Linked DNA regions of Homo sapiens: regions 1, 3 and 4 are each linked to region 2. The links are contacts of gene promoters, found by promoter capture Hi-C in blood cells and fetal thymus (Javierre and others, 2016). All regions are on one chromosome and are shown on one strand. The core of a region is centred on a gene start or on the middle of the fragment in contact, and the rest is flanking DNA. Distances in the headings are between cores, read along the strand shown.

Region 1 (2,899 bases), core at 116-2,615, 390 kb before region 2:
AGCTTGCAGTGAGCCGAGATCGCACCACTCCAGCCTGGGCGACTGAGCAAGACTCTGTCTCAAAAAAAAAAAAAAAAAAAAAATTAGGCCAGGTGCGGTGGTTCATACCTGAAATCCCAGCACTTTGGGAGGCTGAGGTGGGCAGATCACTTGAAGTCAGGAGTTAGAGACCAGCCTGGCCAACATGGTGAAACCCCGTCTCTACTAAAAATACAAAAATGAGCTGGCCATGGTGGCGGGTGCCTGTAATCCCAGCTACAAGGGAGGTTGAGGCAGGAGAATCACTTAAATCTGGGAGGTGAAGTTTGCAGTGACCCAAGATGGCACCACTGCCCTCCAGCCTGGGAGACAGAGTGAGACTCTGTCTTGGAAAAAAAAGGAAAATTAGTCAAGTGTGGTGGCAGATGTCTGTAGTCCCAGCTACTTGGGAGGCTGAGGCAGGAGGATCACTTGAGTGCAGGAGTTAGAGTTTGCAGTGAGCTATGATCTCGCCTCTGTACTCCAGCCTTGGCAACAGAGTGAGACCCTAACTCAAAACAAAAAAACGAACAAATGTGGACTGTAGAACTAGAAACCTGCTCCTGCTGCTTACCAGCTGAGTGACCTTGAGTCACTCATCTAATTTTTTTTTTTTTTTTTTGAGATGGAGTCTCGCTCTGTCACCCAGGCTGGAATGCAGTGGTGCAGTCTTGGTTTACTGCAACCGCCACCTCCCAGGTTCAGGCAATTCTCCTACCTCAGCCTCCCGAGTAGCTGGGATCACAGGCGCCCACCACCACACCCGGCTAATTTTTTGTATTTTTAGTAGAGACAGGGTTTCACTGTGTTGGCCAGAATGGTCTCGAACTCCTGACATCAGGTGATCTGCCTGCCTCAACCTCCCAAAGTGCTGGGATTACAGGTGTGAGCCACTGTGCTGGGCCCACTTATCTAACTTCTTTGCCTCAGTTTTCCCATCTGTGAGAGGGGATAATCATAGTTTCCACCTCACAGGACTACATGGGGGTTGAAGGACTTATTATATATAAAATGCTTAGAAGAGTGCGGAACTTGGTAAATTCTGTAGGTATTTACCATTGTGAGGCAGGGGAAGATAAAGATGGGGGGTGGGACACAGGTAGGGGAAAACAATAAGATGAGTATGTGGTACAGGTGGCTTAAGGTTAGGTGGATCCAAATAATAATGGCTCACCTTTCTTTATTTTTGCCATTGTAGTTTTAAAATAATGACAATATTTATGATTTATTGAGCACCTACTGCATACCAGGCACTGCCTAGATGCTCTGCATTTAGTAGCACTTTATTTATTTATTTGTTTTTGAGACAGAGTTTCACCCTGTCGCCCAGGCTAGAGTGCAGTGGTGCAATCTAAGCTCACTGCAACCTCCACCTCCCAGGTTCAAGCAATTCTCCTGCCTCAGCCTCCCGAGTAGCTGGGATTACAGGCACATGCCACCACACCCGGCTAATTTTTTGTATTTTTAGTAGAGATGGGGTTTCACCATGTTAGCCAGGCTGGTCTTGAACTCCTGACCTCAGGTGATCCACCCACCTGGGCCTCCCAAAGTGCTGGGATTACAGGCATGAGCCACCGCATGCGGCCCCAGTAGCACTTTATACACCAAAACAATCCCACAGGAGTGGATTTCCTCTCCATTTTATAGGTGAGGGAACTGAGGCTCAGAGAGGGGAAGTAATTTTCCCAGGGTCACACAGTTGGAGGACGGCCAAGCTGGGATCTGATAGCTACCATTTATCGAGTGGCACATGCACCGGGCGCAGACTTTTGTGTGCATGATCTCACTCTGTTCTCATGATGACTCTGGGCATCTATTACTTTGTGCATTGCATAGAACATGGAAGTTTTGCTCAGAGAGTCCAGCAACATGCTTAAGGCCACCTAGAGGGTGGATGCGCTGGCCAGGTGCAGCAGCTCATGCCTTTGGGAGGCTGAGGCAGGCGGATCACTTGAGGTCAGGAGTTCGAGACCAGCCTGGCCAACATGGTGAAACCTTGTCTCTAGTAAAAATACAAAAATTAGCCAGGCATGGTGGTGCATGCCTGTAATCCCAGCTACTTGGGAGGCTGGGGCAGGAGAATGGCTTGAACCTGGGAAGCGGAGGTTGCCACTGCACTCCAGCCTGGGTGACAGAGCAAGACTCTGTCTAAAAAAAAAAAAAAAAAAAAAAAAGGAGAGAGAGAGAAAGAGTGGATGTGCTGGAATATAAAGCAAGGTCTGTCTGACTCCAGAGTTTGTGCTCTAATAATAGCCTACACTTACATAGCCCTTTCCATATGCTGGGCTCTGTTTACAAATACTATCTCATTTAACTCCCACAACATCTATGATGTGGGTACTGTTACTCTTCCTATCACTTTTCAGATGAGGAAAACTGAGGCCCAGAGAGGCCTAGCCACTTGCTCAGGGTTGTACAGCCCATCAGAGGGCAGAGAGGGGACTGGAACCCAGGCCATGTGGCCCCAGAGTTCAGGCTTTCAGCTCTAACTACTGTCCCTGTTTTTGTCCCTCACAGGATGGGAAGATCGTAGATGATGTCTGGGTGGTGAGACCCCTGTTTGGCCGGAGGATGTACCTCTAGGGATGGCGGCAGCTCTCCTCCAGAAGCCTAGGTTTTGCCGCCTTGGCTGCTGTGACCAGAAACTGCCCAGGCCTGGGTGGGGAGTTGGGTGGGCCCTGACTCCCCTGCCCTCCAGAGGCCCCATGTAGGGTACATGCAGCCCTATGGAGCTGGGGCAGCTGTTCCCTCCTGGAGAGGTGGGAGTCCTGGCTGGCTGTGGAGGGAGGGCAGGTGTGCGGGCACAGAGTGACACACGGCAGGTTTCTGCTGGCAGGGCCCCACCCTCCTGCATAGCTCTGATCGGGCGAGGTGCCCACGG
Region 2 (2,976 bases), core at 469-2,968:
TGGTCTTCTTTCATTCATTAAAAAATTAACTGCGCAGGGATTAGTGGCTCATGCTTGTAATCCCAGCAATTTGGGAAGCCGAGGTGGGTGGACCACTTGAAGGTCAGGAGTTCGAGACCAGCCTGGCCAACATGGTGAAACCCCGTCTCTACTAAAAATATAAAAAATTAGCCGAGTGTGTTGGTGGGTGCCTGTAATCCCAGCTACTCTGGAGGCTGAGGCAGCAGAATCGCTTGAACCCGGGAGGTGGAGGTTGCAGTGAGCCAAGATCGCACCACTGCACTCCAGCCTGGGCAACAAGAGCAAAACTTCTTCTTCTGAAAAAAACAACAACAGCAACAACAAAAAACAGAGCGCCTACTGTATGCCTGGCTCTGCTGGGCTAGGCTTCGTTGGTTACTATATCTTACTTCTCTGGAAAAAGACATATAAATTGAACCTGTATTTTCCCCTATAATTATTAGCCTCTAAGCACTAAAGTTTTTTACTTTGGGGGGGAAAAAAAAGAAGTTACCCCAGCTCAAGGGTTTTGCCCCATGCCTGGCAGGGAGCAATTATGACCAGAGGGGCTGGGACATCTGCTCCTAATTGGCTTTTCCTGCTGAGGTCCTGGAATACTAAAGGGTTTCTGAAGGGCCCGGGATGTCCCCCCCCCCAGTTCTTCTGGGGTGGGGGAGCGGGTCCCTGTATGTGAAGACGGAATTTCCTGCCCATTTGCTCCTCACACCTTCCGGAGGCCAAACGGGCAGCCCAGCTGCGGCCCGAAGGGGGAGGGGCTCGGCCGCCCGGCAGATGGCGGCATTTACATACAGCTGGGAGCCCCCTCTTGAGGCCGAGCTCCTCGCCCTGGCGTCTGGTGCGTCCGCGATGCGGGGTTTGGGAGGGTGGCTTTGTCTTGCGGAGGGGGAACACACACACGCCTGCACACAGGGGTCCACAAAGAGCCCTGGATCTTCATCGTATCCACACACAGCTACACCCGTGGATCTCCCAAACCCAGTCTCATTCACACAAACCAGCGCACACAGGGGTCTACAAAGAACTCCGGATCTTCATCGTATTCACACGCGGCTGCATCCGTGGACCTCTCAAACCCAGTCTCATTCACACACAGGCGCCCTCAGCCATTCACCACCTTGCACAGCCTCTACCACACCCGCACAGAGCACAAAGTCACAGGTTTATACGCCTATACAGGATCTCCCATAAACACACACGCACAGAGAAGCAGCCACACAGCCACACAATCTCAAAGCGTCACACAATCACGAAGTCGTGTACACTTCTAGTGTCCCACTCGGGTGTGCGTGCAGAATCAGAATTGTTTACAACCTCATAAATGTGTCAATCACACACAACTCCAGGCGTATGCTGAGCCGCACAGTCCCACGTGGACTCACAATGACAAAGTCATGTGCACCCTCCGGTAGCTCTGGTTCATACCACACACACAAAATCTTAAAATCATGTACAACCTCACACACAGGCTTAGCCCCCTAACCCCACCCCACCCTAGCCACACAAAAAGTCGCGGGATCACCCACGCATGACCTCGCTCGTGCCCACGACCACAGACGGAATCTCGCTGTTGCTCCTGCACGCTCCCCCTCCCCTGTGACCGCCCCCCCCGCCCCGCCCTTGGTCCCTTGGGGCCGGGTAGCTGCCTGAAGGGGCGGGGCCATTCTCTCAGATATAAGGCTTGGAAGCCAGCAGCTGCGACTCCCGAGACCCCCCCACCAGAAGGCCATGGTCTCCCCACGGATGTCCGGGCTCCTCTCCCAGACTGTGATCCTAGCGCTCATTTTCCTCCCCCAGGTCAGAGCCAGGTGGGAGGTGGCGTGGAAAGGGATGAATGCGGAGGGGAGGGGTGAGTGCGACCTGAAGGTCCTGGGGAAGGAGCGTGGGGCGGACGGGAAGCCTGGGTCCTCCCGGCCGCCTCACCCTGCGCCCGTCTCCGTCCCAGACACGGCCCGCTGGCGTCTTCGAGCTGCAGATCCACTCTTTCGGGCCGGGTCCAGGCCCTGGGGCCCCGCGGTCCCCCTGCAGCGCCCGGCTCCCCTGCCGCCTCTTCTTCAGAGTCTGCCTGAAGCCTGGGCTCTCAGAGGAGGCCGCCGAGTCCCCGTGCGCCCTGGGCGCGGCGCTGAGTGCGCGCGGACCGGTCTACACCGAGCAGCCCGGAGCGCCCGCGCCTGATCTCCCACTGCCCGACGGCCTCTTGCAGGTGCCCTTCCGGGACGCCTGGCCTGTAAGTGCTGCCCCCGGGGGACTCCCGGTGCTGGAGGCCTAACCCTGCCAGCGAAACCTCCACCTCCTCTCCCCTCCAGCTTCCAAGACCCTAATCCTGCCTCCCAGGGGGTGGACGAAATTCCCAGACCAGTAACTCTACCGTCTGGAACCCCACATTCACAGACCTCTAAACTCTACACACTGGGGATTCTAAATGTTCTGATTCCCCAACCCTGGATGCTGGGACCCCAAATTCCCAGAATTTCAAACCCAAGCTCTGAAATCCTAAACTCAAGGAACCCTACCTCTGCTCCTTGGGGATCCCTAAAAACTGTGGTCCTCATCTTTATCCCCAAACCTCTCACACCTTGTCTTGGGGACCACTAATATCTTCTCTCTCTTTTTTTTTTTTTTTCTGTCCTCAGTTCTTTCAGTTGGGTCCTGTATTAATTACTCTTTCACCTCCAAAATCCTGTCTCCCACCCCCACAACCCAAAGGCACAAAGATGAACAGACCTGTATTGCAATGCTTGACCCTTGTCCTTTTGGACAAGTGACTGCCTGGTTTCCAGCCTCAGTTTCCTAAGCTTAAAAATGGGATCATCCTGGTACCTCACAAGGGTCCCTTTTGAGCGATTCAACCACATCTCTTGAATAAAGTGCTTACCACGTAGTAAGTGCTCAATAAAGCAAGCCACGTCCAGTCGCTCACACTGTAATTCCAGCACTTTGGGAGGTCTAGGCAGGAGG
Region 3 (3,345 bases), core at 408-2,907, 280 kb before region 2:
ATCTTTCATGCTTGCTTTCTTTATTCTTTTTTCCTTTGAGTTTTTTGTTTGTTTGTTTGTTTGTTTGTTTTTGAAACGGGGTCTCGCTCTGTCATCCAAGCTGGAGTGCAGTGGTGCGATCTCAGCTCACTGCAACCTCCGCCTCCCAAGTTCAAGGGATTCTCCTGCCTCAGCCTCCCAAGTAGCTGGGACTACAGGCATGTGCCACCATGCCCAGCTAATTTTTTGTAGTTTTAGTAGAGATGGGGTTTCACCATGTTGCCCAGGCTGGTCTTGAACTCCTGACTTCAAGTGATCCACCCACCTTGGCCTCCCAAAGTGCTGGGATTACAGGCATGAGCCACCATGCCTGGCCCTTTTCTTTGAGTTTTGCGTGCTGTTCTTTTCCTCACATTTAAGATAGATGGTTAGCTGGCTTATTTTCAGCCTCGTTCCTTTTCCCACATTTGTATTTAAGGCTTTACACTTTTTTTGTGGGATTGTTGTGTGTCTTACATAAGCAAAAAGTATAGTGGGTTGAGGTTATTTCAGGCACATGGAAAGTGCTCAGTGTGTTTACTGACATGGATGATGGTTTTGATTATTATTTAATTTATTTATTTATTTTGAGACAGAGTCACACTCTGTTGCCCAGGCTGGAGTGCGGTGGCGCGATCTCACCTCACTGCAACCTCCACCTCCCGGGTTCAAGCAATTCTCCTGCCTCAGCCTCCTGAGTAGCTGAAATTATAGGTGTGCACTACCACACCTGGCTAATTTTTGTATTTTTTAAAATAGAGATGGGGTTTCCCTATATTGGCCAAGGTGGTCCCGAGCTCCTGATGTTAGGTGATCCACCTGCCTCAACTTCCCAAAGTGTGATTATTATTATTCTTATTAATCAGGAGCTTTAGAGTCAGAGAAAGATTCAAGCAAGAAGTTTGGATTAATTATGAATCAGTTTCCTATTGCTGCCGTAACAAATGATTGCAAACAGTGCTTTACAACAACACAGATTCATTATCTCACAGTCCTGGAGGTTGGAAGTCCAAAATGAGTCTCCTTTGGCTAAAATCAAGGTGTCATCGGGCTGCCTTCCTTCTGGAGGCTCCAGGGGAGAATCCTGTTTCTTGCATTTTCCAGATTCTAGAGGCCACTTGCATTCCTTAGCTTGTGGCCCCTTCCTTGTTGAAGTCAGCAACAGAGAATCTTTAAATCCCTCTATGACTCTGTCCTTTTCTGCTGCCTGCTCTTCCACTTTAAGGGATCCTTACAATTACTCTGGTCCTACCCACATAATCCAGGATAATTTCCTTTGTTGTTGTTGTTTTTTGTTTTAAAGACACGGAGTCTTACTCTGTTGCCCAGGCTGGAGGGCAGTGGTGTGATCACCACTCACTGCAGTCTTGATTACCCAGGCTCAAGCAATCCTCCTGCCTCAGCTGCCTGAGTAGCCGGGACTACAGGTATGCACCACCACACCTGGCTAATTTTTGCATATTTTTGTAGAAACAGAATCTTGCTATGTTGCCCAGGCTGGTCTCAAACTCCTGGGCTCAAGTGATCCTCCAGCCTCAGCCTCCCAAAGTGCTGGGACTACAGGCATGAACCACCGCACCCAGCCTAGAGTCCATGTTTTTAGCCACTCAGCTCCAGGATACACTGAGCCTGGTTGCATAGTCAATTTCTTTTCTTTTCTTTTTTTTTGAGATGGAGTGTTGCTCTGTCGCCCAGGCTGGAGTGCAGTGGCATGATCTCAGCTCACTGCAACCTCAGCCTTCCAGGTTCAAGAAATTCTCCTGCCTCAGCCAGCCTCCCAAGTAGCTGGGATTACAGGCACGTGCCACCATGCCCAATTTCCTTATTTTAAAATCAATGGGACATGCGTGGTGGCTTATGCCTGTAATCCCAGCACTTTGGGAAGCCGAGGCGGGCAGATCACTTGAGGTCAGGAGTTTGAGACCAGCCTGGCCAATATGGTGAAACCCCATCTCTACTAAGAATACAAAAAATTAGCTGGACGTGGTGGCATGCACCTGTAGTCCCAGCTACTCAGGAGGCTGAGGCATGAGAATCGCTTGAGCCCGGGAGACAGAGGCTGTAGTGAGCCAAGGTCACACCGCTGCACTCCAACCTGGGTGACAGAGTGAGACTGTCTCAAAAAAATAAAATAAAATAATGATTAGTGACTTTAATTCCATCTGCAACCTTAACTCTTCCTTGCTGTGTAACATAATATATTCGCTAGTTCTGAGGACACCTCGGGGGGCTGTTATTCTGCCCAAAAATTAGTATTTTGTTTTACAAATGAGGAGTATTCTTGTCTTTCATATGAAGGGAGACAGCTACCAAGGCTGTCTGGGGCTCCAGTGTCAGGGCCCAGGCTCCTTCTGTCTTGTTGCTCCAGCATCAAATGTGGCTTTTTCTTGTGGCCCAATATGGCTGCTTGAGCTCCATCCTTCCCATCTACATCCCAGTCAACATGTGGAGGAAGGGAGGGAGGGAAGAAGAAGGAAATGCTCTTCCAGGAGCATGGTACATGACACTCCTGTCTACATCTTGCTGCCAGAACTTAGCTAGAGATGGGCACTCAATGCCTCAAAAAGATGGATCTAGGCCAGGCGCAGTGGCTCACACCTGTAATCCCAGCACTTTGGGAGGCCGAGGCAGGCGGATTACGAGGTTAGGAGTTCAAGACCAGCCTGGCCAAAGTGGTGAAACCCCATCTCTACTAAAAATACAAAAAATTAGCTGGGCATGGTGGCAGGTGCCTGTAATCCCAGCTACTCAGGAGGCTGAGGCAGAAGAATTGTTTGAACCCAGGAGGCAGAGGTTGCAGTGAGCTGAGATCGCACCACTGCACTCTAGCCCGGGCGACAGTGCGAGACTCCATCTCAAAAAAAAAAAAAAAAAAAAAAAAGATCTGGCCTTGGGTTAGCTGTATGCCTGGTCACAAATCAAATTTCCTATTACTGAAGGAAGAACAGATATTGAGGCCATGTCACAGATTGAAGGAATAAGAAGCACATTGAAGGGATGACAGAGTCAGAGAGGACATAGATGTCCAGGAAAAAGTGGAATCCAGCCTTTCTACAATCTGGGTACAGTAGAAAGAAGGGGGGTGTGGTCACTGATAATGGCTTTCAAGATATCCCGGAACCTGTGGGTGACCTTATTTGGCAAAAGAAACTTCACAGACGTGATTGAGTTCAGGATCGTTCAATCAGAGGTTGTCCTGGAAGATCTGGGTGGACCCTAAATGGAATCACTAGGCTCCCTAGAAGAGGGAGGCAGAGGAAGATTTGGCTACAGAGGAGGAGGCAAGGTGAGGATGGAAGCAGAGGTTGGAGAGATGTTATTTGAAGA
Region 4 (3,183 bases), core at 201-2,700, 340 kb after region 2:
CGCTTCCCTATTTCAGGTCCTCCATATTAGGAACCAGCCTTCCAGGTAGTCTCCCTGTACCATATCCCAATTCCCCCTACCACAACAGGGTTCTTCCCCATATTACTCCAATATCCCATCCCAATCAAGGCCCACTCCTCCTGATGGGAGAAGGAGGAGGTGTCTCTTCCCACAGTTTAGAGTGATCATCCTTTTCTCCCCTACACTGCTTCCTTGCCCCCCTACACACACACACACACCCTAATATTCCTACCACAGACCTTTCTCCAGGCACCCCTCTTTATACCAGGGTCATTCCACAACTGTGTCCACTCCTAGAGGGCCTCAAAGTCAAATCCCCAAGTTATCACATAGGGTTCTCTCCTCCCAGAGTTGTCAGCTACAGCAAAAATCTTCTCCCCATGGGCCACTCTCTCCCCCATGTCAAATCCCTTTCTCCTATTCCATGCCTTGCCACTCCACGACTCCTCCACCCTTGGAGCTTCCCCCAAAAAACCACCTCTTCTCCGGGGCCCTCCCACACCAGGATCATCTCTCCCAGCCCCCACCCCCTACCCGGGTCAGGGCTGGCGCGGGGCCCACGGGGGGCTGGGGCGCGGTGGGGCCCCCAGTGGGGTGGGCGAGCGGCCAGCATGGCGGCGGTGGCGGCGCTGAAAAGGCGACCGCCTGTCTCTGGCCCGGCCGGCCCCGCGGCGGGGAGGGCAAGCGGGACAGGAGGCCCGGTGGGTGACAACAGCAGCCGCCACTGCCACCGGGGGCGGGGAGAGGAGGGGACAAGGGTCAGCCCAGGGCACGCGGGGGAAGAGTAGAGCAGGTGGACGGGGGAGGGGCGACACGCCCCACCCTGAGTGACCACCAGCCCCTAGGGACCCGGCGTCCCGCCCCCCACCCAGGAGGCCCTCCTGGGCCTGCTGAGACCGGAAGGCGGGGCCCGACTGAGCTTGGCAATCGGCACCTGCCATGGCAACAACTGTACCATTGGTCGCTGGTGCCAAGAGCTCAGCCAATCACAGCCTAGGGCAGCTGTTGCTAGGCGACGAAGAAGCGGCCCGCGGAGCTGAGCCCAAACAAAGGGCGGGAGTGGGGCCCGGCTACCCCCTCCCAGCCTCCCTCCTGCAACTGCTTCCTCGGGCTTGGCCGGTTCCAGGAATTCAACTATGAATAGCCAGGCAGGGCCCGCACCTGCCTGCCACCCCCCTCCTCTCCTCCCTTGGCCTCGTGCTAAGTCTCACGGCGACGGGAGCAGGGCGGATCCCGTCCTGCCCACCTCCCTGCGACCGCTTGCCGCCCCACCCGTCCCCGCGCCGTTACCTGAAGGAGCGGGCAAGGGGACTCAAACTGCTCGGGGAGCCCGAGCTCAGACCTGCCCACTGGCTGAGGGTATCCGGCGGACGCGGCAAGCCAGGGCCCCGATTACCCAGTAATGCAACCAGCAAAATGGCGACCACAACAAACCGGCCCCCCCACGCCCTGGACTCCGCCCCCATCCCTCCCTCTCCGCTCCCCTCACGTGACCCACACTGACACTCCGCCTGCGCGAGATGGCCGCTTACCTGCACGCATGCGCAGCGAGCTACCAATCCCACCCAAGAACCGAAATCCAGGCTGCCGCTGCGCAAAGGCAGCTAGAAACGGAGCATGCGCTCTGTGACCGAGTGAGAATTTACCCAACCCCGCAAAATTGACCAAGGGTGCGTGCTCCCTGTGTCAGCAGGTCAAGGGGAGGAATGAGCAGCAGACATGGGAGACGGATGAGTCTTTTAATAGAAAAACACACGTGCAACAGTATCAACACACATCTCTCGCAATCCTGACAGCGCTGAACTTCAGTTCTTCACCTTGGGGGGTGGCCTGTGAGAGGAAGATAGGTGATGAAGGAGGGTCCCCAGGATCATGGCACTCGGGGTGCAAGGGACAGAGATGTCTGTCTTGGTGTATTGCTGGGCCCCTGCTCACCTGTACACTCCCACGACCACGGCATGGTCTCTTTCATATGGCTCAAGGGTCAACTGCTCCTGCGGCTTCATGTTCTCCTGTTGCATCTTTTTCACTTCGGAGGCAAACACGGCCTCGGCTGAGGCTGTGGAGTCAATGCAGTTGGCCTAAAGAGGAGAAAGGACTAATGTCTACAACAGGGCTTTGGGCTGTTTTTCTCTTGTGTGCTCTTTAAACCAGATGTTTTCATTATTAATTCAAGTAAAACTCAGTGCTATGGTTCTAGTGTGTCCCCCAAAGTTCATGTGTTGGAAACGTAACCCTTAAATGCAAGAGTTGAGAGGTGGGACCTTCGAGAGATGATTCAGGTCATGAGGCCTCTGCCTTCCTGAATAGAGTAATGCTATTATCACAAGAGTGGGTTGCTGATTAAAAGGATGATTATGCCCCCTTTCTATCTTGCTCTCACCCTTCTGCCAATGGATGACAGCAAGAAGGCCCTCGCCAGATTCAGACCTCCAATCTTGGACTTTCCAGCCTTTGGAACTGGGAGCCAAATAAATTTCCATTCATTATAAATTACCCAGTCTAAGGCTGGGCGTGGTGGCTCACGCCTGTAATCCCAGCACTTTGGGAGGCCGAGGTGGCTCAATCACGAAATCAGGAGATTGAGACCATCCTGGCCAACACGGTGAAACCCTATCTCTACTAAAAATACAAAAATTAGTCGGGTGTGGTGGCGCACACCTGTAGTCCCACCTACTCGGGAAGCTGACGCAGGAGAATCGCTTGAACCCAGGAACTGGAGGTTGCAGTGAGCCGAGATCGTACCACTGCACTCCAACCTGGTGACAGAGTAAGACTCCATCTCAAAAAAATAAAAATAAAAATAAAAATAAATAAATTACCCAGTCTATAGCATTCTGTGATAGCTGCATAAAATGGGCTAAGACACTCGGGTTTAGGAAATGTGATAAAAGGCTTAATGAAAGTTTTTGGCTGGGTGCAGTGGCTCGTGCCTGTAATCCTAGCACTTTGGGAGCCTGAGACAGGCAGATTGCCTGAGCTCAGGAGCTCCAGAGCAGCCTGAGCAACATGGCAAAACCCCGTCTCCACTAAAAATATAAAAGTTAGCCAGGTGTGGTGGCACACGCCTGTAGTCCCAGCTACTTAGGAGGCTGAGGCAGAAGAATTGCTTGAACCTGGGAGGCAGAGGTTGCAGTGAGCTGAGATTGCACCACTTCACGC

What was found. The method cuts DNA at HindIII sites, captures the fragments that hold promoters and counts their contacts. A CHiCAGO score of 5 or more calls a contact.
Region 1: a contact is called between a fragment that was not itself captured here and the fragment with the promoter of DLL3 in region 2, in 2 of 17 cell types (naive B cells and neutrophils). The highest score is 7.0, in naive B cells.
Region 3: a contact is called between a fragment that was not itself captured here and the fragment with the promoter of DLL3 in region 2, in 1 of 17 cell types (neutrophils). The highest score is 6.1, in neutrophils.
Region 4: a contact is called between the fragment with the promoter of DYRK1B here and the fragment with the promoter of DLL3 in region 2, in 4 of 17 cell types (erythroblasts, total CD4 T cells, naive CD8 T cells and 1 more). The highest score is 6.7, in erythroblasts.

What each region holds. Positions count from the first base shown.
Region 1 is chr19:39,107,518-39,110,416 of GRCh38, forward strand. ACP7 (acid phosphatase 7, tartrate resistant (putative)) reads left to right here. Exons shown (of 13, transcript NM_001004318.3): 13 at 2,536-2,899. The coding sequence ends at 2,601. Among named protein-coding and RNA genes, the nearest start is that of PAK4, 17 kb to the right of the region's middle. The HindIII fragment of the contact is 5,363 bases long and covers 1-2,899 here.
Region 2 is chr19:39,497,229-39,500,204 of GRCh38, forward strand. DLL3 (delta like canonical Notch ligand 3) reads left to right here and starts at 1,719. Exons shown (of 9, transcript NM_203486.3): 1 at 1,719-1,815; 2 at 1,964-2,245. The coding sequence starts at 1,747. RefSeq lists an enhancer at 423-1,415 and a silencer at 1,039-1,098. The HindIII fragment of the contact is 3,955 bases long and covers 1-2,811 here.
Region 3 is chr19:39,214,115-39,217,459 of GRCh38, forward strand. No RefSeq gene overlaps it. Among named protein-coding and RNA genes, the nearest start is that of SYCN, 12 kb to the left of the region's middle. The HindIII fragment of the contact is 6,255 bases long and covers 1-3,345 here.
Region 4 is chr19:39,832,712-39,835,894 of GRCh38, forward strand. It overlaps DYRK1B (dual specificity tyrosine phosphorylation regulated kinase 1B), which reads right to left and starts at 1,451. Exons shown (of 11, transcript NM_004714.3): 1 at 1,312-1,451. FBL (fibrillarin) reads right to left here. Exons shown (of 9, transcript NM_001436.4): 8 at 1,957-2,102; 9 at 1,747-1,851. The coding sequence ends at 1,827. RefSeq lists silencers at 624-893, 1,154-1,263. The HindIII fragment of the contact is 24,958 bases long and covers 1-3,183 here.